Regions from separate parts of the Homo sapiens genome. Here regions 2, 3, 4 and 5 are each linked to region 1. The links are contacts of gene promoters, found by promoter capture Hi-C in blood cells and fetal thymus (Javierre and others, 2016). All regions are on one chromosome and are shown on one strand. The core of a region is centred on a gene start or on the middle of the fragment in contact, and the rest is flanking DNA. Distances in the headings are between cores, read along the strand shown. Region 1 holds the start of HIRIP3 (HIRA interacting protein 3). Region 2 holds the start of RABEP2 (rabaptin, RAB GTPase binding effector protein 2). Region 3 holds the start of ATP2A1 (ATPase sarcoplasmic/endoplasmic reticulum Ca2+ transporting 1). Region 4 holds the start of TUFM (Tu translation elongation factor, mitochondrial). Region 5 has its middle 2.9 kb from the start of SPNS1.

Region 1 (2,700 bases), core at 14-2,513:
TTTTGAAGACCTTGCTCACCCGAAGAGTCTTCATCCACGTTCTCGTACTGCAGAAGTCGGTCTAGGAGGAAACTGAGGGGAGGGAAGGAGACACGGACAGTGATTTTCCAGCGCAGCAATGTCCTCCTGGGTACCTGTCCCTCCCAGCTGGCCCATCGGATACTTGAAAGAGCCCATGCACTTGTGGCCCTACTCGGGGATGGGGTCCGAATGTAGATTTCCTAGGAAGCACATCGCCCTCCGCCCCTGCAACGTGCCTCACCTCTTGTCCCGGGACACCTTCAGTAATTTCCTTTGCGCTTTCCTCAGCTCCTCCTGGAAGCACTCGTGCTCCTGTATCACGGGCAAGGGGTGCGCTGGGCCAACGGTCCTCCGTGAAGGGCCCCGGAACCAGCGGCCGCTCGCCCCACCCACTTTACACCTGGGTAAACTGAGATCTTGTCCGCGCCAGGCCTCATCCCCCACAGCCTTCCCGCGGCAGCACTCACGTAGATGAGGAACTTGAGCTTCCGCTTCAGATTCCGGTATTTTTTTTTGTAGTCCACTTCGCCGTCCGCCGGCCCGTTCATGACCGGCCCGGGAGTGGCGCCCAGAGTCTGCCCTCCCGCTACCCCAAGCAGTGGCTGCCGTGCCGCTCCCGCCTCCACTTCCGGAGACGCTGCAAGGCTGTGCCGTCAGGACTACAACTCCCGGCGTACCCCGCGCTCAGGGGCGTCACCGCACGGGCCGACCTCCCGGGGGACACTGGGACAGGAGCGCGGCAGCCACTGCGCTGGGGATGGCGTAGCAGCGACGCGGTGACGCCACAAAAATGGCGGACGCTGGAAAGCGCCGTTCCTGACTCTAATGTACTTAGACACTTGAAGCCACAAAAGGATTTATCCCCGAGGTTCCTCATCTGCTCGCGAGGATGCCTTTTCTCTTCTGCCTTGCGAAATAACAGCAGCCTAGCTGTTGCCCGTGACCAGTGAGAAAGGCAGCGTCGCGGGCTGATTAGGTTTCACCCAAAGGGTGCCGGCGCCGAATTGGTTTCTAACGAGAACTTTTAAAATGATCCGTTCCAAAAAAGGGTAGGAGCCGCGAGACCCTCCAACTGCCCAGAGAAAACAAGTCTCGTCTGGCAAAGTTCTCGGCCCACGCGGTCCGCGGCCAAGGGCCAACGGTCCCTCGCCCCACGTTGCCGCAGCACTGCGCGTGCGCGAGCCGCTGTCAAACGCGCTGACGGAGGCCGAGAAGAAAAAAAGGCGGGAGCCGTCAATCCCGGGTTGAGCAAAATGGCGCGGGAGAAGGAGATGCAGGAGTTCACCCGTAGCTTCTTCCGAGGCCGCCCGGACCTCAGGTGCCCAGGGGGTTGGAGATGGGGTTGGAAAGGGCGCGGGTGGGTCGGGACTCCGTCCTGACACCATGTCCCTGCAGCACGCTTACGCATTCCATCGTGCGGCGGAGGTACTTAGCTCACTCGGGCCGCAGCCACCTGGAGCCCGAGGAGAAGCAGGCACTGAAGCGGCTGGTGGAGGAGGAGCTGCTGAAGATGCAGGTGTGCCGGGCCGGAGCCTGGGCCGCGGGAGGCGGAGGCGGGGCTTGCTGCTGAGGAGGAGGGGCCTGACGGGGCGCGGTGAGCGCAGCCTTGGTGCATAGTTTGCCCTCTTGGCGCACACACAGGTGGATGAAGCCGCTTCCAGGGAAGACAAACTGGACCTTACCAAGAAGGGCAAGAGGCCTCCCACCCCTTGTAGCGACCCGGAGAGAAAAAGGTTCCGCTTCAATTCAGAGTCGGGTTAGTGCTTCCTCCCTGCTGTGGGGGCCTTCTGCATCGTTGGTTCACTCAAGAAGCATTCACTGCGCATCTCTTATGTCCCCAGGCGTTAGATGAGGGAGCAAGGCTAGTGAGTCAGGAACCGGGAACAGCAAGTACAGATAGCTGTTTCCTGCTGCCCCTCCAACTGTCAGGGCAGGGCTCGAGGCAACCTATCCGAAGTGAAGGGAGAAGGGACAGGAGGAGCCTGTCTCAACCCTCTCTCCTCTCCATATTCCAGAGTCCGGCTCTGAAGCCTCCAGCCCAGACTACTTTGGACCCCCAGCAAAGAATGGGGTGGCAGCAGAAGTCAGCCCAGCCAAAGAGGAGAATCCAAGGCGAGCCTCAAAGGCAGTTGAGGAGAGCAGTGATGAGGAACGGCAGAGGGACCTGCCCGCACAGAGGGGAGAGGAGAGCAGTGAGGAGGAGGAAAAGGGGTACAAGGGGAAGACTAGGAAGAAACCTGTGGTAAAGAAGCAGGCACCAGGCAAGGCCTCAGTCAGTAGGAAGCAGGCCAGGGAAGAAAGTGAGGAGAGCGAGGCAGAACCCGTTCAGAGGACAGCAAAGAAGGTGGAGGGAAATAAAGGAACTAAAAGCCTGAAGGAAAGTGAACAGGAGAGTGAAGAGGAGATCCTAGCCCAGAAGAAAGAGCAGAGAGAGGAGGAAGTGGAGGAGGAAGAGAAAGAAGAGGATGAGGAAAAGGGGGATTGGAAACCCAGAACCAGGAGCAATGGCCGGAGAAAGTCAGCTAGGGAGGAGAGGAGCTGTAAGCAGAAAAGCCAGGCAAAGAGGCTCTTGGGAGACTCAGACAGCGAGGAAGAGCAGAAAGAGGCAGCCAGCAGTGGGGATGACAGTGGGAGAGATAGAGAACCCCCAGTGCAGAGGAAGAGTGAGGACAGGACCCA
Region 2 (2,700 bases), core at 110-2,609, 1.1 Mb after region 1:
GAGAACATGCATGTTTAGCTTTCTGTTGCTGCATTAATTTGCTGAGGATAATAGCTTCTAGCTTCATCCATGTCCCTGCAAAGGACATGATCTCGTTCCTTTTTATGGCTGTATAGTATTCCATGGTGTATATGTACCACATTTTCTTTATCCAGTCTATCATTGATGGGCATTTGGGTTGAGTCCATGTCTTTGCTATTTTGAATAGTGCTTCAATGAACATACTCGTGCATGTATCTTTGTAATAGAATGATTTATATTCCTTTAGGTATATACCCAGTAATGGGATTTCTGGGTCAAATGGTATTTCTGGTTCTAGGTCTTTGAGGAATCACCACACTGTCTTCCACAATGGTTGAACTAATTTACATTCCCACCAACAGTGTAAAAGCGTTCTACCTTTGGCCATTTTCAAACTGCATTATCTGTTTTACAAAAATCGCTCCAGCTGCTTTACGGAGAATTAATTAATTAAAGGGTGGAGTCGACACTGCGGAAGTTCAGGAGAAGTGATGGGAGCTGGGACGGAGTGTTAGCGCTGGAGATGGAGAAAAAGGGGCACATTCTGGAATAGTCAGCACATTGGAAGTAGAGTTTACGGGACTTGCAGGAGGACACGTAGAATCAAGGACTTCCAGGTTCCTGGCGTGTCCTTTACAGAGGGAAAAAAGGTTTGAGGGAAGGGGAACCAAGGCTCTGGACATAAATCTGAATTGCCTGTCACCGTCCGGGTGGAGGTCACAGATAAAGAGCCTGATCTAGACACAGGCGGAGAGGAGAGGAGGGATTTGAGGGCGTTGGGAGGAGGAAAGGGGGGCCAGCAGGAAGCGGTGACTGGCTGAGTAACAAAATGGGGGTGGGGACGTGCAAGTTTCAGACTCCGACTAACTACGCGGGGACTCCGAGGCGCTCAGAAAAATGAAGCCGACCCGGCCCTGCCCCGAGGGACGCTCCAAGAGGGCGGAGGTGCAGGGAGGGCCCCGCCACAATTCGCGGTAACGCAAGCCAGGCTCGGGCGGAAGGGCGGCCGGAGCCGATCAAAGGCTGGCTCCGGGCAGGGGCAGCGAGGGAGCGAGGGGGAGCTCTCCGCAGGCCGGTGTCCCGGAGGAGGCATAATTGGAGCAGGGCTTCCAAGGTCACGGAGAGACGCCGGGCAAGACCTCTTAAGGATCCTCTTCCGGGCTTGAAAGGCAGGCGTCCTCCCGAACCGCGCGACCCAGCCAAGAAGAGCCGGGGCGGGGCCGGGGCCGGGGCCGGGGGCCGACTCGGGAATCTTCGGCCGAGGCTCGGCAATCCCCCCATCCTCCGTCCGGGGCCTCCAGCCCGGGGCCGATCCGGAAACAGCCGAGCGGATCCGGAAACAGCCGAGAGGACCCGGAAGCGGTGCGCTCCGTCACCAGGGAGTGCGGGAATCCGCCGTTTGCGCTGAGGCAATGGCGGCAGCTGCGCCGGTGGCCGCGGACGACGATGAGCGGCGGCGGCGGCCGGGGGCTGGTACGTGAGGGGGCGTCCGTGCAAGCGGGGAACGGTGATGCTGGGGGCGGGGCCGAGCCAGCCACCTGCGGATGGGGGGTGGAGAGGGATGATGGAGGAAGGGGCGGGGCCACGCCGTCGGGAAAGGGGGCGGGGCCTACAGCCACAGGCAAAAGGGGGCGTGGCCCGGCCATTGAAGGGGTAGGGCCAGTGACAGGTGCGAAGTGGGGCCCGGTGAGGAAGGGGCGCGGCCACTAGGAGGGCGGGGCCAGGTGGGACCGAAGAGAGGACTGAGTGAAACTGGCCACCGCGAAGAGATGGAGTGTAGGCAGCACCCGGCAGAGCGAGTGGGAAGGGGGCGGGGCAGGGGCGGGGCCAGGTGAGCCGGGCGGGCCCAGGTGAAGGAGGCCCCAGATGAAGGCAACAGTACTAGGTTGCAGGACTTGCTAAGCCGGTAGGTGGCCTGGGGTAAGAGATGGGAAGAGAGGCTGATCCCTGTCCCCCACAGCACTGGAGGACTCCCGGTCCCAGGAAGGGGCAAATGGTGAGGCCGAGTCAGGTGAGCTCAGCCGGCTTCGGGCTGAGCTGGCAGGCGCCCTGGCAGAAATGGAAACCATGAAGGCTGTGGCAGAGGTGAGCGAGAGCACGAAGGCCGAGGCTGTGGCTGCGGTGCAGCGGCAGTGCCAAGAGGAGGTGGCCTCGCTGCAGGCCATCCTGAAAGGTGAGACGCGGGACTCACCTAGACTCCCCATCAACCCCATACTGGGGAGTGCATGACGAGAAAGGGATTGGGGGCACAGATAAGCTATGGGATAGGTTAGCAGGGCTGCCTGGCACAGGGCATGCCTATGGCCCAGAGGAAGGGCCGCCCTTTTAAAATTTGCATAGAGGCCCTCCATGTGATAGCAGCAGCTCTGTCAGTTATAGCTAAGTTTAGCTCCCAGCTTCTATCTGTTGCCTTGTCCCATGTCATTTCTTGTCCCTCACTGATGATTGATCAACCCTGAAGATGGGCGAGAAACTTCTCAGTTCCCCAAACCAACCTCATTTTAGTCTGGACTTCTGGGAAATAGAATCAGCCCTGGCCCAGTCTCTGTGAGTCTAATGCTCTGCTCTCTAGCCTTCCCCAGACACTCCCCCCTCCACCCCACGCCATGCACCAGCTTCCCCACCTCCGCCCCACGTTCTTTGTACTTGGTCCTCTGGCCCCAGACGCCCCAGCTGCTG
Region 3 (2,700 bases), core at 166-2,665, 1.1 Mb after region 1:
CCGGCATCGCGGCGGGACCCGGAGCCCGGAGTTCGGGTGGGTAACCCGAGCTCTCCAAGCTCTTGAAGCCGCGAGGGTGGCTTAGCTTCGGTGTTTTGGCTGAGAACACCCTTAAAGCTTAAAATAAAACCTGCCTCTGGGGTGCAGGGGAGGAGAGAGGAGGACGCGAATCACACCCGCTGCTGCGCGCCAGCCCGCCCCGTCTGTACAATGGGATGCTCGGGACTCGGACGGGAGGATCCAGTGACTGCGAGCCCCGCATTCGCCCGATCCCAGCCTCACACCCCCAGCCAGCCCCCAGAGACCCTCCCACACTTACGAAGGAAATGCATGCGGCCAGGAGGAGAATCCGCACCAGGAGGTCTTCAAACTGCTCTATCACCAGCTCCCACAGGGTCTTCCCTGGGGGAGGAGGCAAGGGGAGGGCCCCGGGTTAAGGTCTAGTGGGTGAAGGTCTGGGATGGAGCGCCCTGGACTCCGGCCTGCAGTGGGGAGGCTCTAGGGTGGTGGGCAGACAGCTTGGTGCCCAGAGAAGGGCTAAGAAGCTCGCCTGGAGTCCAGAAACAGACTCGGCAAAGTGGGGGGCAGTTCAAGGGTTGGCTGCTTCAAGGAGAAAGCGCCTGGGAGACTTCTGCCCCGGACAGGACTCTAACCTTTAGGGAGGGAGATTTGCCTTTTGGGAAGGGATATTTGCTCAAAGAATCTAAAGAGGCAGGGAGGAGGGAGTGGGACAGGGCGGGGTGGGGGGTGGTCATTTATGAGAGTTCAGGGATTCCAGTAACTTACCTTCCTCAGCAGGGAGCTCTACCCAGGAAAAAGAAGAAAAGGACAGATTCATTTGGGGTTCAGCCTCATGCCCCCCACACCCAAGACTTTGTGGCTAAGAGAATCAGGCCACCTTGAGGTTCATCAAGTTCATCCCATTAAAACCTCCCAAAACTCTGGATCTCGGGACTCTGTTTTCTCAGTATCTTCTTCCCCCTGCGAGCATTGGACAACGGCCCAGCTCTTCCTTAAGAAACCCTGAAGGGAGAAACGCGTGCATGCGTGTGCGTGTGTTTTGGGGGTGCAGGAGGGCATTAATTACCAGCCGCTCTTCCAAGGGACACTTACCATTGAGGCCGTATTTCTCCAGATTCCGCTTAACTTGGTCCGGGGTGAGGCCCGTGGTCTCACTCACCCCAAAATAGGCCAAACATTCCTCCGTGGTTTTAGCATGAGCGGCCTCCATTGTGCTCCCTTCCTGGGGGCCGGGGCCGGTGTGTTCCTTCCAGGGGGTTCCCACTCGTGGGGGGTCTTCCTCAGTGTGTCCAACTGCCTGTCTGCCTGGGTTTCTTCTTTTTACTCTCCTGCCCCCTCCAGGTTTTTCTTCCCTCCACAAAGCTCTGACCCCCGTCCCACTTGAGCAGCCGGCCACCCCCCGGCCCCCAGCTGGTCCTTATGAGGGAGCAGGGGGAGGCCGGGCTCCCCCCTCCACCAGATCAGGGATTGGCTGGCTGAGACTCCAGCAGGAGGTGGTCAGAAAAGAGAGATATTTCTGCTGACAGAGGGGGAACAGTGGGGCTGCAGCCTGAGATGTCACTCATGAGGGACGCAAAGGTAGCCCCAGCCCCAGGGAAGTGGGGTAGGGAGAGACTTCACTTTCTGTCATCTGCTACTGACCCTGCCCCCCCATTGCCTCGACTTCCCCAGCTGCATTGAATTTCCCATTCCAAACTCATCCCCCCAGTTCTTCCCGGAGCCCTCTTCCATCCCCGGCCTCACCTGTCCCTTTCCTCACACCCCCCTTCCTGCCTCATCTGCCCGGAGCCTGTTTCCATTGCCGCAGTCTCCTTCCTCCTCACCCCATTTGCTGAAGCAGTGGCAGAGATACCCCAAGCCTTTGGGGGACTGATGAAGGGAGAACATCTTTTGGGGGCTAGAGGAAGTGAGTGGCTCCTAGAGGGACAAGGGGAAGTGAGGGGAGAGAGTCAAGGGGACAGGGCCGAAGATGGTAACCCTACCCTAGGGAGGGGTTGCCACAGCCATCAACAAGGGATTTAGTGTCCAGGCCCTGGTGAGCAAAGCCAGCACTGCCTGTCTCTCCCCAAAACTGCCCCCCCCCTTCCCCATCGCTCTAACTCAGCCTCTGGGAACAGAGCCCTGAGGGCCCCCCCATCCTGGATAGGGAATCCCCACCCCACCCCCAAGAAAATGGGACACCAAGGCAGCCAAGTAACCCAAGAGGCTACAGAATGTGCTGATGGCAGAGGGGGAGGGGTAACTGTCTCAGGATGGGGGCAGGGGTCACCCCAAGTCGTGCACTGAGGGTCACCTCATCCCACACTGTGCTCTAACCAACGGGGTTTCTGTGGCCAGCCCCAGAGGCCTGTGGTCTGCGCTGCACTCTGCCCTGCTGCATCTGTCCACGAGGGGAACAGGATCAGGCCCATGCTGTGTGCGTGCAGGAGCTAGGCAGACCCCACAGAAAGGTGTCGGGGCCTGGGGAAGCTGGACCAAGCAGGGGCTCCAGACCAAAGGAATGGGGAAGGGTGGACTTCTGGGGACAGGTCTGGGGGAAATAAGGACAGATGTCTAGACCTAGGGGGAAAGGGAGCAGAGACACAGAGCCACCAGGGTCAGAGGGAAGTCCGAGCAGCAGTGGGGAAGAGGGACAGCAGGGAGCCAGGTGGGCGGGGACCCCGGCGCTGGGTGCAAAGC
Region 4 (2,700 bases), core at 185-2,684, 1.1 Mb after region 1:
AGTGTCATGATCATACCTCACCACAGCCTTGAACTCCTGAGCTCAGGCGATCCTCCTGCCTCGGCCTCCTGAGTAGGAGGGGCTATAGCTGCATGCTACTGTGCCTGGCTAATTTTAAATTTTTTTTTGTAGAGATAGGGTCTCCTAATCTGCCCAGGCTGGTCTTGAACTCCTGGCTTCAAACCGTCCTCCCACCTCAGCCTCCCAAACTGCTGGGACTATAGGCTGGCACTATAGCCACCGTGCCCAGCCTCTTCTCAGTTTTAGAAGAGTGTTTGTTATATAGCTTCCCAGTCTGTGCATAGACCCCACGGAATCATAACCTCCAGGGGAGGAATTAGGGAATCTATTTGAAACAAACACTGTCCACTGAGTCTCAGGATCTGATGAGTTCCGAAACATTAGCCAGGGTTAAGCAGCCATAATTAACACTTTGGAGTGCCCTGTGGAAGCTGCCATGAGATGATGGATGTGAAAGTTAAGGGACATTGACTACCCTTGCACCCATTCATTCAACATTCACTGCATGCTCCACCCTGTTAGGTGCTGGGGACACCGACAGATTAAAGGAGACTCAGGCTCCCCTTAAAGGCTCCCCTAGCTGGCTCCTCATCCTTGGCTCCTCATCTGCAAAATTAGATGGGTGGGGCGATGCCCAACGGAACTGCTCCTTAGGCTGCTGAGGGACTACAGGGGTGGGCAGCGAAGCTGTCTGTCTTGTGGGCTCTGGCCCTGTGAGGTCTAGCAGTACAGGGTCCCCGCAAGCTGCCTGACCTCACAGGGCCCAACACTGACTCCTACCCAGTTCATCTCCTCTCAGGGCTAGATGTCAGGCTCTCCCTATGAAGTGGATACTACTATTCCCATTTTACAGATTAGAAAACAAAGTCTCAGCGAAGAGGGAGGTCACACTTCACCCCATCCCCGAAAGGCGTCCAGGACCTGGTCCCCTACCTCCAGCTGCGGCAGAGGCGGCCAGATATCTCGCAAGACCCGCGTAGCGAGTCGGACTCCGGGGGACTCGGGGTCTCTCTCTGCCGGGCCCAGGAGGAGGTTCCTGAGCAGTCGGAGCCGCAGCTGCCTCCCGGAGCCCGAGCCCCTCCCTCCGGGTCCGGCCTAGCCCGCCTGACTCCCACTCTGATCACCTCCACAGCCCGCCGACCTGAGAACTACTACGCCCATGAGCCTTCGCGGCGCCGGTGATTTAGGGGACGCTCCTCAGTGCCCCCTGCGACCGCCAGAGAGAACTACGTTGCCCCTCAGCCCGAGAGGCGCGAGTGGTGGAAAACCTCTCCATCATACTCCGCCCTCGAGACACCAGCCCCCTCCATGACGTCTTCAGCCGCGCGCCCGACGTCGGCTGAGACGGCCATAGACACTGGCGGCTAGAGGGGCCCGGACTTGCCCTCCCAGCTCTAACTTCCGCCGGAAGTGCCTTCCAGCCGCAGGCGCCCTTCTTCTTCTGTGCGCTCGGGCTCCTGGTCCCGGCTCCCCGGTTACCGGGGCGCGAGTATGACCACAATGGCGGCCGCCACCCTGCTGCGCGCGACGCCCCACTTCAGCGGTGAGTGGTCAGGGAGGGCGATGGCGGCCCAGGAACACTTTGGGGGAGTGGTAGGTGGCTGGGTTCGGTCTGACCCCTTCCCTGCCTGACTCCAAGCTTCGGTCCCGGCAGGTCTCGCCGCCGGCCGGACCTTCCTGCTGCAGGGTCTGTTGCGGCTGCTGAAAGCCCCGGCATTGCCTCTCTTGTGCCGCGGCCTGGCCGTGGAGGCCAAGAAGACTTACGTGCGCGACAAGCCACATGTGAATGTGGGTACCATCGGCCATGTGGACCACGGGAAGACCACGCTGACTGCAGCCATCACGAAGAGTGAGTGGGGTTGGGGCGTCCAGCAGCGCCCTATCTACTGATGGGACCTGGAGCCAGGGAGGCAAGGCCAGCAGAGTGTCTGCTGGAGGAGTTTACTGTGGCCCCAAGAGCCCGAATTTGTGCGACAGGTGGATTGGGAGATGCAAGAGACAAATTTCTCCTGAACAGGAAGAACTTTGTGATCCACCAATGGCTTGGGGATCACAAAGTCGTGGGGAATGCTCTGCAAGCAGAGGCTGTACCCTAAAGAAGTCACAGGGCAGACCCTTAAGGCCCTCTAACATTTCTTTCTGACCCACAGTTCTCTCTGCTGGAAGAGTTAGAGATTGGAGGAGGTTATGTATTTAGGTGGGAGGGTTCAGGGGCGTGGTCTAAGCTCTGCCTCTAGCACTGGAACTTTAGCTGAGAGGTGTGTTCTTTTCCTCCTTTAGTTCTAGCTGAGGGAGGTGGGGCTAAGTTCAAGAAGTACGAGGAGATTGACAATGCCCCGGAGGAGCGAGCTCGGGGTATCACCATCAATGCGGCTCATGTGGAGTATAGCACTGCCGCCCGCCACTACGCCCACACAGACTGCCCGGGTCATGCAGATTATGTTAAGGTGAGGGTTGCTGGGACACTGGAGACAGGGCCAGAAGCTGCCTCTTGTCAGGATAAATGTTAGGCTTGTGGGGAGGAGATTAAGATATTCAGTGTTTGGGTATGAGATGGCAGGTTTGTGGTCTTGGCCACGCAGAATGGGTGGTGAGGAGATGGTAGAGAAAGGTGGGCCTGAGTTTCTAACTGCTACACTTGGCTATATGGATGTGAACTGAAGAGCTCGTTGAACTTGG
Region 5 (2,725 bases), core at 61-2,560, 1.0 Mb after region 1:
CCCGCCTCAGCCTCCCACCGTGCTGGGATTACAGGGGTGAGCCACCATGCCCAGTGTCATTTTAATTTTTATATTTGTAGAGATGAGTTATCGCTATGTTGTCCAGGCTAGTCTGGAACTCCTGAACTCAAGCAATCCTCCCACCTCATCCTCCCAAAATGCTAGGACTACAGGTGTGAGCCACTGCACCCAGCTCTTTTGTCCATTTTAAAAATTGTGTTTTTGGCCAGGCACAGTGGCTCATGCCTGTAATCCTAGCCCTTTGGGAAGCTGAGGTGGGAGGATCACTTCAGCCCAGGAGTTCAAGATCAGCCTGGGCAACAAAGCAAGACTCATCTCTACAAAAAAACTAAATAAATAAAAATTAAATATACACTTCCCATATGACCCAGCAATTCCACTCCTAGGTAACCACCAATGAGAAATGAAAACGTGTCCAAACAAAAACCTGTATATGAATGTTCATAAATGCATTATTCATAATAGCCCAAAAATGAAAAGAATCCACATGTCCATCAACAGGGGCATAATCTATTCATACAACGGGAATAGCTTAACAAGAAAAAGGAATGAACTGTCAGAGACGTTCGGACCAGAGTGACTCCATCTTGAGTGACGGTTAGGAAAATAAGGCTGGGACTTGCTGGACTGAATTACAGAAAGTAAGGCATTCCTAGACTCGACATGTTTATGGTTAAGGAAACAATAACGTTTACTAGGCCGGGCGCAGTGGCTCACGCCTGTAATCCCAACACTTTGGGAGGGCGAGGCGGGTGGATCACAAGGTCAGGAGTTCAAGACCAGCCTGGCCAAGATGGTGAAAACCCATCTCTACTAAAAACACACACAAAAAATTAGCCAGACGTGGTGGTGGGCGTCTGCAATCCCAGCTACTCGGGAGGTTGAGGCAGAGAACTGCTTGAACCCAGGGGGCAGAGGCTGCAGTGAGCCGAGATTGTGCCACTGCACTCCAGCCTGGGCAACCGTGTGAGACACCGTCTCAAAAAAAAAAAAAAAAAATTAGCCGGGCATGGTAGCACACACCTGTAATCCCAACTACTCAGGAGGCTGAGGCAGAAGAATCACTTGAACCTGGGAGGCAGAGGCTGCAGTGAGTTGAGAGAGCACCACTGCACTCCCACCCGGGCAACAAGAGCAAAACTCCATCTCAAATAATAATAATATAATGTTTACTAAACAGACCCAGACTTGGGAGTGTCCAGATATCCCAATATATGGAGAACAAAGCATTCCTAATTTTGCTTTAAAGATAACAATATTGATTCTTGCTAAATATAGTAATTAAGAAAATTAGCCGGGCGCAGTGGCTTATGCCTGTAATCCCAGCACTTTGGGAGGTCAAGGCAGGCGGATCACGAGGTCAGGAGTTCAAGGCCAGCCTGGCCAACATGGTGAAACCCCATCTCTACTAAAAATACAAAAATTAGCTGGGCATAGTGGCGTGTTCCTGTAATCCCAGCTACTCAGGAGGCTGAGGCAGGAGAATTGCTTAAATTGGGACCCAGGAGGCGGAGGTTGCAGTGAGCCAAGATCGTGCCACAGCACTCCAGCCTGGGCGACAGAGCGAGACTCCATCTCAAAAAAAAAAAAAAAAAAAATCCTTTATCACAAACCCTTGTAGCAGAGCACATCTCCCCATATATATGAGTCTTGTACATAAGGTGGATGCCTTCCCCTTCTTACTTTCAGGAATGTCCTACTCTGTCTATGGAGTAGCTGTACTTTCACCAGTTTACTTTTTTTTTTTTTTTTTTTTGAGACGGAGTCTCACTCTGTAGCCCAGGCTGGAGTGCAATGGCATGATCTCAGCTCACTGTAACCTCTGCCTCCCAGGTTCAAGTGAGTCTCCTGCCTCAGCCTCCCAAGTAGCTGACATTATAGGCCCCAACCATCTCGCCCAGCTAATTTTTGTATTTTTAGTAAAGATAGGGTTTCGCCATGTTGGCCAGGCTGGTCTTGAACTCCTGACCTCAGGTGATCCGCCCACCTCAGCCTCCCAAAGTGCTAGGATTACAGGTGTGAGCCACTGTGCCCGGCCCAGTTTACTTTCTTAATAAACTTGCTTTTACTTCACACTGTGGACTCACCCTGAATTCTTTCTTGCACGAGATCCAAGAACCTTCACTTGGGGTCTGGATCGGGACCCCTGTCCTGTAACAGAACTACTGATACAAACGCAGAAACATTGTGTTAAGTAAAAGAAGCCAGACACAAAACACTGCATACTGTTATTCCATTTATATGAACATCCAGAGAAGGCAAAAGTAAGGTGACAGAAAGCAGATTAGTGGTTGCCTGGGGTCATGGGCAAGAGAAGGAAACTTTTGCACAACCGTGTACATCTACCAAAACTCACTGAAGGCCAGGCATGGTGGCTCATGCCTGTAATTCCAGCACTTAGGGAGGCTGAAATGGGAAGATGTTTGAGGCCAGGAGTTTGAGGCTGCAGTGAACTATGATTGCGCCACTGCACTCCAGCCTGGGTGACAGAGCAAGACCCTGTCTCTACATAAATAATTTTTTGAAAAAATTCACTGAACTGTATGCTTAAAATGAGTCAATGTTTAGGCATATTAATTAAACTACAATAGGCCGGGAGTGGTGGTTCACGCCTGTAATCCCAGCACTTTGGCAGGAGGATCACTTGAGTTCAGGAGTTTGAGACCAGCCTGGCCAACATGGGGAAACCCTGTCTCTATTAAAA

The links. The method cuts DNA at HindIII sites, captures the fragments that hold promoters and counts their contacts. A CHiCAGO score of 5 or more calls a contact.
Region 2: the fragment with the promoter of RABEP2 here is called in contact with the fragment with the promoter of HIRIP3 in region 1 in 5 of 17 cell types (fetal thymus, total B cells, naive B cells and 2 more); the score reaches 12.2 in fetal thymus.
Region 3: a contact is called between the fragment with the promoter of ATP2A1 here and the fragment with the promoter of HIRIP3 in region 1, in 1 of 17 cell types (fetal thymus). The highest score is 6.3, in fetal thymus.
Region 4: the fragment with the promoter of TUFM here is called in contact with the fragment with the promoter of HIRIP3 in region 1 in 2 of 17 cell types (non-activated CD4 T cells and fetal thymus); the score reaches 9.8 in non-activated CD4 T cells.
Region 5: a fragment that was not itself captured here is called in contact with the fragment with the promoter of HIRIP3 in region 1 in 1 of 17 cell types (erythroblasts); the score reaches 6.6 in erythroblasts.

The regions. Positions count from the first base shown.
Region 1 is chr16:29,994,180-29,996,879 of GRCh38, reverse strand. It overlaps HIRIP3 (HIRA interacting protein 3), which reads left to right and starts at 1,263. Exons shown (of 7, transcript NM_003609.5): 1 at 1,263-1,339; 2 at 1,417-1,537; 3 at 1,663-1,777; 4 at 2,037-2,700. The coding sequence starts at 1,275. It overlaps INO80E (INO80 complex subunit E), which reads right to left and starts at 639. Exons shown (of 7, transcript NM_173618.3): 1 at 489-639; 2 at 263-333; 3 at 20-72. The coding sequence starts at 569. RefSeq lists enhancers at 556-685, 746-915. The HindIII fragment of the contact is 4,684 bases long and covers 1-2,700 here.
Region 2 is chr16:28,923,897-28,926,596 of GRCh38, reverse strand. It overlaps RABEP2 (rabaptin, RAB GTPase binding effector protein 2), which reads left to right and starts at 1,359. Exons shown (of 13, transcript NM_024816.3): 1 at 1,359-1,494; 2 at 1,982-2,194. The coding sequence starts at 1,434. RefSeq lists enhancers at 316-899, 1,878-2,107, 2,138-2,227 and silencers at 1,118-1,467, 1,498-1,717. The HindIII fragment of the contact is 8,433 bases long and covers 1-2,700 here.
Region 3 is chr16:28,877,203-28,879,902 of GRCh38, reverse strand. ATP2A1 (ATPase sarcoplasmic/endoplasmic reticulum Ca2+ transporting 1) reads right to left here and starts at 1,415. Exons shown (of 23, transcript NM_004320.6): 1 at 1,114-1,415; 2 at 787-804; 3 at 320-402. The coding sequence starts at 1,231. ATP2A1-AS1 (ATP2A1 antisense RNA 1) reads left to right here. Exons shown (of 2, transcript NR_046290.1): 1 at 1-361; 2 at 799-946. RefSeq lists silencers at 1-115, 136-185 and enhancers at 256-1,029, 2,275-2,364, 2,375-2,444. The HindIII fragment of the contact is 4,054 bases long and covers 120-2,700 here.
Region 4 is chr16:28,845,082-28,847,781 of GRCh38, reverse strand. It overlaps TUFM (Tu translation elongation factor, mitochondrial), which reads left to right and starts at 1,434. Exons shown (of 10, transcript NM_003321.5): 1 at 1,434-1,564; 2 at 1,676-1,870; 3 at 2,302-2,468. The coding sequence starts at 1,513. It also overlaps a transcript of SH2B1 not described here. RefSeq lists an enhancer at 1,083-1,572. The HindIII fragment of the contact is 15,792 bases long and covers 1-1,662 here.
Region 5 is chr16:28,970,507-28,973,231 of GRCh38, reverse strand. No RefSeq gene overlaps it. Among named protein-coding and RNA genes, the nearest start is that of SPNS1, 2.9 kb to the left of the region's middle. The HindIII fragment of the contact is 3,657 bases long and covers 1-2,725 here.